Regions from separate parts of the Homo sapiens genome. Here region 2 is linked to region 1. The links are contacts of gene promoters, found by promoter capture Hi-C in blood cells and fetal thymus (Javierre and others, 2016). All regions are on one chromosome and are shown on one strand. Each heading gives the region's core, a stretch centred on a gene start or on the middle of the fragment in contact. The rest is flanking DNA. Distances are from core to core; before and after follow the strand shown. Region 1 overlaps SIN3A (SIN3 transcription regulator family member A). Region 2 holds the start of CSK (C-terminal Src kinase).

Evidence for each region. The method cuts DNA at HindIII sites, captures the fragments that hold promoters and counts their contacts. A CHiCAGO score of 5 or more calls a contact.
Region 2: the fragment with the promoter of CSK here is called in contact with a fragment that was not itself captured in region 1 in 3 of 17 cell types (neutrophils, non-activated CD4 T cells and activated CD4 T cells); the score reaches 6.8 in neutrophils.

The regions. Positions count from the first base shown.
Region 1 is chr15:75,445,393-75,450,599 of GRCh38, forward strand. The region is part of intron 1 of SIN3A (SIN3 transcription regulator family member A); the gene reads right to left. Among named protein-coding and RNA genes, the nearest start is that of SIN3A, 3.7 kb to the right of the region's middle. RefSeq lists enhancers at 4,716-5,207, 5,063-5,192. The HindIII fragment of the contact is 2,544 bases long and covers 706-3,249 here.
Region 2 is chr15:74,779,141-74,784,372 of GRCh38, forward strand. It overlaps CSK (C-terminal Src kinase), which reads left to right and starts at 2,940. Exons shown (of 13, transcript NM_004383.3): 1 at 2,940-3,580. RefSeq lists enhancers at 2,390-2,509, 2,530-2,599, 3,642-4,217, 5,100-5,229 and silencers at 2,820-3,039, 3,150-3,409. The HindIII fragment of the contact is 10,374 bases long and covers 1-5,232 here.

The DNA.
Region 1 (5,207 bases), core at 728-3,227:
AAAAAAAAAAAAATTAGCCAGGCATGGTGGTGGGTGCCTGTAATCCCAGCTACTCGGGAGGCTAAGGCAGAAGAATCACTTGAACCCAGGAGGTGGAGGTTGCAGTGAGCTGAGATTGTGCCAAGCCGAGATTGCACCACTGCACTCCAGCCTGGGAGACAGAGCAAAACTCCGTCTCAAAATAAATAAATAAATAAATAAATAGCTGGGTGTAGTGGCGCATGCCTGTAATCCCAGCTGCTCGGGAGGCTGAGGCAGGAGAATCACTTGAAGCTGGGTGTGTGTATGTGTGTGTGTGCAATGAGCCGAGATAGTACCACTGCACTCTAGCCTGGGCAACACAGTGAGACCTTGTCTCAAAAAAAAGAAAAAAAAAAAAAAAAAAGAAAGAAAGAAAAGAAAATAGAGCATTACAAAGAATAGAACTTGAGATAGTTCTTGAAAGGACAGGTGGAAGTGTCACTCACATCTCACACTGCTTTTATCACATTAGCTCTTCTGCTCCCACACAAACATGGGCACATAACATCTTTAACCATCTATGTATCCTCTACCATGCTCAGCATACTGCTTTGTCTTGTCTGTGGTGGAAACCAAATCATTCATTCATGTATACATTCTCTAATATCTACTGAGCACATACTATGCACCAGGTGTTTTAGGAGCTGGAGATACAACGGTAAACAAAAATCTCTTCCCTCAAGAAGCTTATATTTTAGTGAAAGATGACACAATAGACAAAGTATAATATTTAGAATAGTAGGCAGTGACAGGTATCAAGAACAAAAGGCAAGGAAGAGTTTTTGAAATTGTAGATAAGAATGGTCAGATAATACCTACTGATAAGGTAACTTCTGAGTAAAGGAAGTGAGGGAGCTAGTCATGCAGAAATTAGTGGAGGAAGCCTTCTAGGCAGAGGGGACAGCAACCGCAAAGACCCTCATGTCTTTGTGAGGGCTCACATGTGCTTGACATGTTCCAAAACAGCATGAAGGCTGGGTAGCTGAAGAAAAACGAAAGAAGGACTAGTCAGAAATGTAGTCAGAGAGGTACTAGGATAAGGGTGGCAGGCAGAGGGTACATCAGATTTGTTCTTACAGGTGTTTTTTTATTTTTTGACACAGGGTCTCATTTTGTCGTCAAGGCTGGGGTGCAGTGGCACAGTCATGGCTCACTGCAGCCTCAAGCTCCTGAGCTCAAGCAATCCTCCTGCCTCAGCCTCTCAAGTAACTGGGACTACAGGCACGCGCCAGCATGCTTGGCTAATTTTTAATTTTTTTATAGAGACAGGGTCTTGTTATGATGCCCAAGCTGGTCTCAAACTCCTGGACTCAAACGATCCTCCCACTTGAGCTCCCAAAATGGTGAAATTACAGACATATCCTTTTTTTTTTCTTTTGAGACAGTCTCGCTCTGTCGCCCAGGCTAGAGTGCAGTGGCACGATCTTGGCTCACTGCAAGCTCCACCTCCCGGGTTCACACCATTCTCCTGCCTCAACCTCCCGAGTAGCTGGGACTACAGGTGCGTGTGCCACCATGCCCGGCTAACTCTTTTGTATTTTTTTTAGTGGAGACCATGTTAGCCAGGATGGTCTCAATCTCCTGACCTCGTGATCCGCCTGCCTCAGCCTCCCAAAGTGCTGGTATTACAGGCATGGGCCACCGCGCCCAGCTCATTACAGACATATCTAAATAAGGACTCAGGTTTAATACTCAGACTGAAATGGAAAGCCACTGGATGGTTTTAAGCAGAGAAGTGACACGGTATGACTTAGGTTTCAAAAGAATCACTTGGGTTGCTATGTTGAGAACACATTTAAGAGCCGCAGTAACAAAACAAGGAGAATAGAATCCAAGCTAGAGATGCACAGGCACTGACTAGGGCAGTGGAGATGCAGATCCTAAGTGGTCTAATTCTGGATAGTATTTTGAATATAAAGCAGTAAAATTTACTGATGGACCACATATGAAAAAGACACAGAAGAGTCAACAATGTCTCTTAGTTATCCAAGAGGAGACATCGAGTGGAGACCTTGAGTGGGCCACTAAACATATTAGTCTATGGTAGAGGGAGAGATCCCCGTTAGAGTCATCAGCATTGTTTGGATTTTAGAAAGGTAATATGGTACATATACTGTATCATCTCTCTCTCCCAGCTAGGGCTGAGTAGCTCCCCATAATCAAGCAGTCACATTTCTGCATCATGCAGGATAGCCCAGGTCAGGCTGTACCCCAAAACTAGTTGTGGAACTAGACTTACCAAAAAACAAAAACTCTTGCATTTCAGAACTGCAAATAAAGGATGTGGACCTGCATATCCTCCAATAGCCCATATGTCAGCAAGCCTAGCCCTGGAGGACACCAAGAAGACTCATGAAGGGTCCACTGTCATGCTGAGAAATATGGGTAACATACAAGCATACAAGACAAAAAGTGGGTAGGGAAAACAAAAGCAAAAGGGGCAAATAAGAAATACATCAGGTAGAAATTGCCACCCATGACCGGGCACGGTGACTCACGTCTTAATCCTAGCACTTTTGAGAGGCTGAGGCAGAAGGACCTCTTGAGCCCAGGAGTTCGAGACCAGCCTGGGCAACACAGCAGGACTTCACCTCTATAAAAATATAAAAAAAATTAGCCAGGTGCGTGGTGGCACACACCTGTAGTCCCAGCTACATGGGAGGCTAAGGTAGGAGGGTCGCTTAAGTCCAGAAGATCAACACTGCAGTGAGCTGTGATCATGCCACTGCACTCCAGCCTGGTGACAGAGCGAGACTTCGTCTAAAAAAAAAAAAAAAAAGACATGAGAAAAAAAGACATTATGCGGCCGGGTGCAGTGGATCATGCCTGTAATCCCAGTACTTTGGGAGGCTGAGGCGGGCGGATCACGAGGTCAGGAGTCTGCGACCAACCTGATCAACATGGTGAAACCCTGCCTCTACCAAAAGTACAAAACTTAGCCAGGCGTGTGGTGGCGCCCCAGCTTCTTCTTCGTGGAGGCTGAGGCAGGACAATCGCTAGAACCCGGGAGGCGGAAGTTGCAGTGAGCTGAGATTGCACCACTGCACTCCAGCCTGGGAGACAGAGCAGGACTCCATCTCAAAAAAAAAAAAAAGTCTAGTGCCTAACACAGTATCTGTGACACAGTAAGTGCTCAATAAATATCAGCTTTTATTTTTCAAGGGGCGAGGAAGGTGTATTTTGAAAAAGCATATACTATTTATTTTTTTAAAGGCCTACAGAAAGTAAAGCTTAACAAACTCTTGGCTGGTGGATTGCCCAGAAAAGAGAGAAAGCCATGAAAAGCACTATGCTAAACTACTGAATGCCAGGGATATAACCTCTTAATTCCAGTTAAAATTCCCAGGTACTAACATCTGCCATGCACAGCTCTCCAGTGTCTTGTCTGCTCCCACTGAAGATGTAAAAAGAATTATACTTCACCAGGAATCTTGTCAAATTACTACACACCTCCTTCCTTAAAAAAGAAAAAAAGTCTTTCTCTGTATGTAAATTATTAAAACCCTCTTAATTACGAAGTGCCAATCTTTCTAAGCTATTTATCTCTGAACAAAATTATAGTATATAAAATAATTATCTGGAGATTATGAAGCATTTATGAAAATGTTCCTAATACAGCAAAACCAGGTTCTTACTTGAATCCTTATAGACTCTTCTGTGTTCCCCAGTATACAGCACTGCAAATCATGGGAACTATATATGTAGCCCAAATTTTCCTCAATGGTCAATCGTTCTCCACTATCTCTCTCAGTTTATGGCATCAGAAAAAACCACCTGGATTTTTTGTCTCCCCACCAATTCTATTACAGCCATCATTTGCTAAACTAAAATGCTATTGCTTTTGCAACTTCCTTAGCAGAGAAGGTAGGACCCACCTACCCTTTTCACATAAATATAGCACAGGGTACCACTCAGGCCCTACTAACCAAAGCACAAATCTAGAATTTCACTTCAGATAATTAACCAGAGGCTCATTTAGACATTACTGCATAAATAAACATTGGTTCCATGTTTATTTTTCTCATGAAAAATGTGAAAAACATTGAAATAATTTCTCTCAATAGGAAAAGATAATGTATCAAGTGAAAGCAAAAACCTCATCTAATGTGGTTCTGCTATCTAAATCTGAAATGCCCTAAGGCAACTCTCCAATACAGGCTGGAGGGCAACGCTACAGAAGTCACATACAGAAGGCTACCCTGATCCACAATTCCACCCTCCTCTGAAATAAAAAGGGCAACAACACTGTACTATGTAGAGTATAAATAGAAAGTGGTCTAGATGGTCTAACATAAGTACATAAAATAAAAAAGAAAAGACTTTTCACCTATAGTTACCTAAATAGCAAATTCTTTAGGAAACCAAGTTTTTTTGGTTGTTTTTTGAGGCGGAGTTTTGCTCCTGTCGCCCAGGCTACAGTGCAATGGCACCATCTCGGCTCACTGCACCCTCGCCTCCCGGGTTCAAGTGATTCTCCTGCCTCAGCCTCCCCAGTAGCTGGGATTACAGGCGCTTGCCACCACGCCCAGCTTTTTTTTGTATTTTTAGTAGAAACAGGGTTTCGCCATGTAAGCCTGGCTGGTCTCGAACTCCTGACCTCAAGTGATCCACCTGCCTCGGCCTCCCAAAGTGCTAGGATTACAGGCATGAGCCACCGCGCCCGTCCAGGAAACTAAGTTTATATAGCAGAACCATGTGCACAATGAAAGCATTCAAAAATACAACTGTCAGAGATATCGGAGTATTTTATTCAAAGTCTGAGTTCTTAAAAAAAAAAAACAAACCCTACTTTATAAACAGACCAGTTTTGAGATTAAAATGTAAATCCAAACTTTCCTGTTATAAATCTCAGCCTTGTAAAGAGGAGGAGCTTCCACTGCCTTTTCAAGGCTAACTTCGTTTAAAGTCCTAACGCACCGAAACAGACGCCAAGTCTACTACCCACCACCCATTGGCTCAAAGGAAGCCCCGCCCCGTACAGCCACGGTAACTGAACATCAAGGGAACCCCAGGGAAGGTTTTCCCTCCGCCACATTTCTAGTCTCTGATGACTCCCTGCCCCTCCCCTACCATCACCACCGCGGATCTAGGGTTCCAGCACCAGCCACGCACGCTCCTACAAGAGGACCTTGGGCACTTCGCCCCAATAGTTACAACCAAGAGGGGAGTGGGGGTGACCATGCTCC
Region 2 (5,232 bases), core at 1,690-4,189, 670 kb before region 1:
TTACTAAGACAGTTGTAGATAAAGGCAGATTTATTAGAAAAAGTAGGAAAATACATTGCAAGAAGGCAGAAGAGAAGCTGACTGCCAGGAAACAAAAGGTTGTTGGAGATTTTATAGAATTAGTGTTATGCTATCTGTTGAGGAGGTTTTTGTGCAGTATCAAACGCCAAGGGTACAGTGAGCTAACTTGCCAAGGGTACAGTGAGCTAACTTGCAGGAGTCTGGTGATAGTCGGGCACAGGAAGATTGTGAATTATTTGCACAGGAGAGCTATATGTCCTAGACATGAAGAAAGGCAGACTCACAGCTTATCTAATTTCTCTTTTTGCTTTCCCTTGCTCCCACCGACCAGATTCCCTTTCCCTAATTAGCACTTCCCACCTAGCACTTAGTAGGTGCTCAATAAGCATTTGTTTTTTTGTTTTGTTTTGTTTTGTTTTGTTTTTTTGAGACAGAGTCTCGCTCTATTGCCCAAGCTGGAGTGCCGTGGCGTGATCTCGGCTCACTGCAAGCTCCGCCTCCTGGGTTCACACCATTCTTCTGCTTCAGCCTCCCCAGTAGCTGGGACTACAGGCACCCGCCACCACGCCCAGCTAATTTTTTGTATTTTTAGTAGAGACAGGGTTTCACCATGTTAGCCAGGATGGTCTCGATCTCCTGACCTTGTGATCTGCCTGCTTCGGCCTCCCAAAGTGCTGGGATTATAGGTGTGAGCCACGGCGCCCAGCCCAATAATTCCACCAGAGGACAGGTCTGTGGGAGTGGGGCCCTTTATCGATTTGTTTATGGTTTTATCCCCAGTGCCTGGAGTACAGGAAGATTAAAAAATTTATTTCACTTTGCTGAGAAGAGGTGGAGCCAGGATTCAAATGCTGGTCTATTTGACTCCAAAGTTCACAGCTGGGCCACAGCACACCCAGGGGAAAAAGTCAAGTGCATTTGGGGATAAAGAAAGGTTGGTGACAAAACTGGAACAGGGATTAGAGTATTTTCCCCAAATCCCCAGTCTTTTCTTTCCCATTCTGCTAGCTGATTCAGCCAGGGGAGGGGAGATGTCAATTTCTCCCTCCCAGAAGGCTTTGCAGAGCTGCTGAAGTGCTTTCTTGTAGGCTGAGAGGCGGCCCCCCATCCGGCCCCATATTATCATTCCATCTTGACCTCAGAGGAAAGAAAGGGAAACCAGCTCTGCTGAGCACCCTTTCCACTCCCTCACCCCCAGGCCGTTATCTTGCTGAATCTGCACTATCTATCATGAGAGAAGTATATTTTGAGCCTGATCTTACAAAAGAGGAAACAGCTCAGAGACCTTAGGTAACTAGCCCTAAGTCACACAGCTAGTAAGTGGACGGGTTGAAATTTAACTTGGAGACTTGAACCCCAAATTCATCTTTTTTCTGTTACACCACACCTATCTCTGAAACTTACTGGCTGTCTCCTCAAAGGACATCCCTCTCCAAAGGGCTGGCTCCAGCTGGGAAACCGGCCTAAGGGTGCCCTGGGTCAGAGGGCCGACCTGTGGTTTTGGGGGCAACTCCTCCTGGCATCCGAGGCTCTTTAAAACAATCTGCAGCCACACTGTCTCCCAGCTCCGTCTCCCACAGGGCTGTTTGCCCTCTTCTCGCTCCCTCGGGCCTCTTCATGCTTATTTTGTGTTCCAAGACTTTGTCAGCATGCCCCACTTCCTCCCCCCCAACCCCAAGAGTGCCTCTTCCCTCTGTCCACCCAAGCCTGACCCTTGCTTCAGGGTCTAGTCCCTAGAAAGTCCCCCACCTTTACCTCCTCCCTACGCTGGAGTCTCTGGTCTCGCCCTCATCACTGTATCCCCATTCTGTTCCCCGGTCTCACCCTCATCACTGCATCCCCATTCTGTTCCCCCGCCACCCTGCACTCTCCCACCCCTGTCATGCCTGAGCACGCTGTCCTCTCCTGTGGCTCAGAGCAGGTCATCTCCCTGCTTTTCGTTAACAGTGATGTAACAGCCCTTGCTTAACGGAGGGCTCCTCACGTGCCAGCTACTGCATACTAAGCACTTTAAACGTATTAACTCATTTCCTCCCCTCCCCACAAAAACTTAAGAAGTCGGTGCCATTATATATCACCTATTTTACCAAATGGGGAAACTAAAGCACAGAGAGGTTAAGTAACTTGCCCAAGGTCACAGAGCTGCTGACAACTTCTTTATTGCCTCCAGGCTGAACATAAACTCCAAGAAAGTCCCATGAGGCTCTTTGGATCTCTTTTGCCCCTGTTGTTTGCAGGAACCCATCTCCCACCACTCTCCCCCACCCACACTGCAAGCGGCAGCCGCCTGAGCTATATTTAGATCCCAGAAGCCACCAAGCTCCCTCCGCACTCCCCGCCCTTGTGCATGCTGTTCCCTCTGCCTGGTCCCGGCTCTGTGAGGTGTGAGGTCTCCCCGTTAGCCCTAGTTTTCTTTCTGCCTCCTGGGAACCGTGTCCACCACCTCTCCACTTTGATCAATTATTTCCTTGCCGTTGTCTGTCGGCCTGTCAGCCTACCCCCACCCGACCGAGAACGCCTTGACGGTAGTGAAATGGTCTTGCCAATAGACTCCAGAGCAGGCTCCGCCACGATGTCAGCGCCAGGAAATGTTGGTGAATGAATGAATGAAGGCTTTCTGCTGCGAATCAGGCCCACTCTCCACAAACAGACCTGAGGAGAGGGGCCCAGGCCCGGCCCCCAGCGCTTCTGCAGCGGGAAAGCTGCGTCCAGAGAAGGCTGGGAGGTTGCTCCCAGGCCGGCTGAGGAGAGACCCTCGGAGCCTTCAACGCAGCCAGGCGGCAAGTGGGGGCAGGGCGTGGGCGCGGACACACCCCCCGCAGTGCCCCCGGCGCCCGGCAGGGGGCGCCGCCCCGCCGGCCCACGCCCCGCCGCGCGCCGGGCAGGCCCCCTCGCGCAGGCGCGCTGCCGCGGGCGGAGGATCCGGGCCGCGCTTCCTCTCGCCAGGCCTGCGAGCTTCCTCCCAGCGGAGCCCTGGGCGAGCCGAGGTTGGCCGCCGCCGCCGCCGAGCCCGCTGCCGCCCTCCCGCTCCTGCCCCACCCGCGCCTTGCCCGGGGGCTTCTGCCGGGGTGGGGTCCGAGCCGGGCGACCGCCCGGCTGCGCCGCCGTCGGGGCCGTAACCCGGCCCGCCGTCCCTCCCGCCCCAGCCAGCCTCTGGCCGCCGGAGCCCGCGGGGCGTGGAGCGCGAGGAGCCCCGCGGCCCCGATCGAGCGTCCGGGGCGGCCCCCGGCAGCCAGCGCGACGTTCCAAAATCGAACCTCAGTGGCGGCGCTCGGAAGCGGAACTCTGCCGGGGCCGCGCCGGCTACATTGTTTCCTCCCCCCGACTCCCTCCCGCCCCCTTCCCCCGCCTTTCTTCCCTCCGCGACCCGGGCCGTGCGTCCGTCCCCCTGCCTCTGCCTGGCGGTCCCTCCTCCCCTCTCCTTGCACCCATACCTCTTTGTACCGCACCCCCTGGGGACCCCTGCGCCCCTCCCCTCCCCCCTGACCGCATGGACCGTCCCGCAGGCCGCTGATGCCGCCCGCGGCGAGGTGGCCCGGACCGCAGTGCCCCAAGAGAGGTGAGTGCCTGGCCGTCCCGGAGTGTCCCCTGGAGGGAAGAGGGTGGAGGTCGCGCGTCTAGTCTCTGTTGCTGCCACTGTCGCGTCCACTCCCATTCCCCTCTTCTCCCACTTCTCCCTTCTCTCCTTTACTCCCTTGCACGGGTTCGAATTCTCCCAGGAGCCACTGTCAGAACCCAAATTGGAAGGGAGTGCATGAGGGAGGTACTGCCCTGCAGCTCCACGGACTCGTCTTCTCGGGTCATCCCGAGTCCCCCCCTCTGTGGAGCTCAGAGTAGGAGGTGGCTGGAGTCTGGAGGAAGAGGATCCGTATGGGCCAGGTCCCTAGAGAGAGTGCTGGACTCCCCTGCCCTTCCCTGTACAGGGCCTCCCCGCAGGTGCCCTGGCTTGCTTGGTTCTGACCCCTCCCTCATTACCCCACCATGACCCTGCGGGCTGCAAGCAAGCCCAGGGCCCAGCCACCTCGGGTGAGCAGTTAGAAGCCCAGGTCCTAGGACTGAGCCTGTCACCCTTGGCCTCTCAGAAGACCAGGCCTAAGCCAAGGGATCTTTGGGTGGGAAACTGGGCAGGCCTTCTGCCCGGGGGGAGGTAACGGAGCATTAGCACCATGCCCCCACCTTCTGGCACCCTGGGCAGCCCATTCTCCTAGGCTCTTTGTGGCCCAGACCAGGTGTCAGGAAGGGGTGTGTCCAGCCAGCAGATTTTTTGGAGCTTAACTACCAGTTCACTTCCCCGCCCATTTTGTACACCCGGGAACCGAGGCTCAAAGGGAGAAGTTGCTACCCCAGGCCTCTAGTGGAGTTAGGCTGGCTGTCCTTTCATCCCCAGCTATACAGGGCTGGATGGCTGTGGGTGGAAGGAAACCAGGCAGGCACCTTCACCCACTGGGGACACAGGCCCCCAGCCCGGCCCCAGAGGGACCTTGTTGGTTGAGCACGTGCTTCCCTGCAGAGGGCTGGAGGGAGTGAAAGGGCTTCCGGCTCCAGCTGTGGCTGGGTCAGCTAGCAGGAGATGTGGGGAATGTGTGGTGTATGGCCATCTGTGTGGTGTGGCAGGAAGGTCCGGTCCTGGCCCCGGCTCTGAGTTGAAACAACCTGGTGGTCAGTCCTGACCCAGCACTCGCCACACCTATGGCCCAGCTGGCACAGGAGCAGCCAAGTTCAGGATATAAATGGGGTCACATGGGAACCGTGGAAGCTCTGTCTCCACTGGCAGCAGGCTACAGACTGGGGACATGGGAGCATTGTGAGAGTGGGGACACCCAGGGGGCCTGTTTCAAGCTCCTAGTACCCTGGCGGTTCCAGTGTCTTTCTTGGTTGTGGCCACAGCAGGAACAGGGCAAGGACAGCAGGGGTGAGGTTGAGGCCTGGCAGGATCCTCTGGCCCAGGAGAGCAGGCATTGCCCTGGTGGGTGCTGAGCAGTGTCTGGGCTCCCTTGGAGCTGCTGGCAGTTTTGTCCTGCTGGGTCCCTGCTCACGATTTAGGGTTTTTTTGTTTTTTCACTTTTTTTTCTGGCTGTCCTGACATGCACAGTGGAGGGGACCCAGATGTCCTGGGCCTGTGAGACTCCCCTCACATGGCCCCACACCCAGCCCTAACTTCCTTTCCAGCCTGAGGGACTGGGGCTGGAGCCTGACATGGTTAGCTCCCTC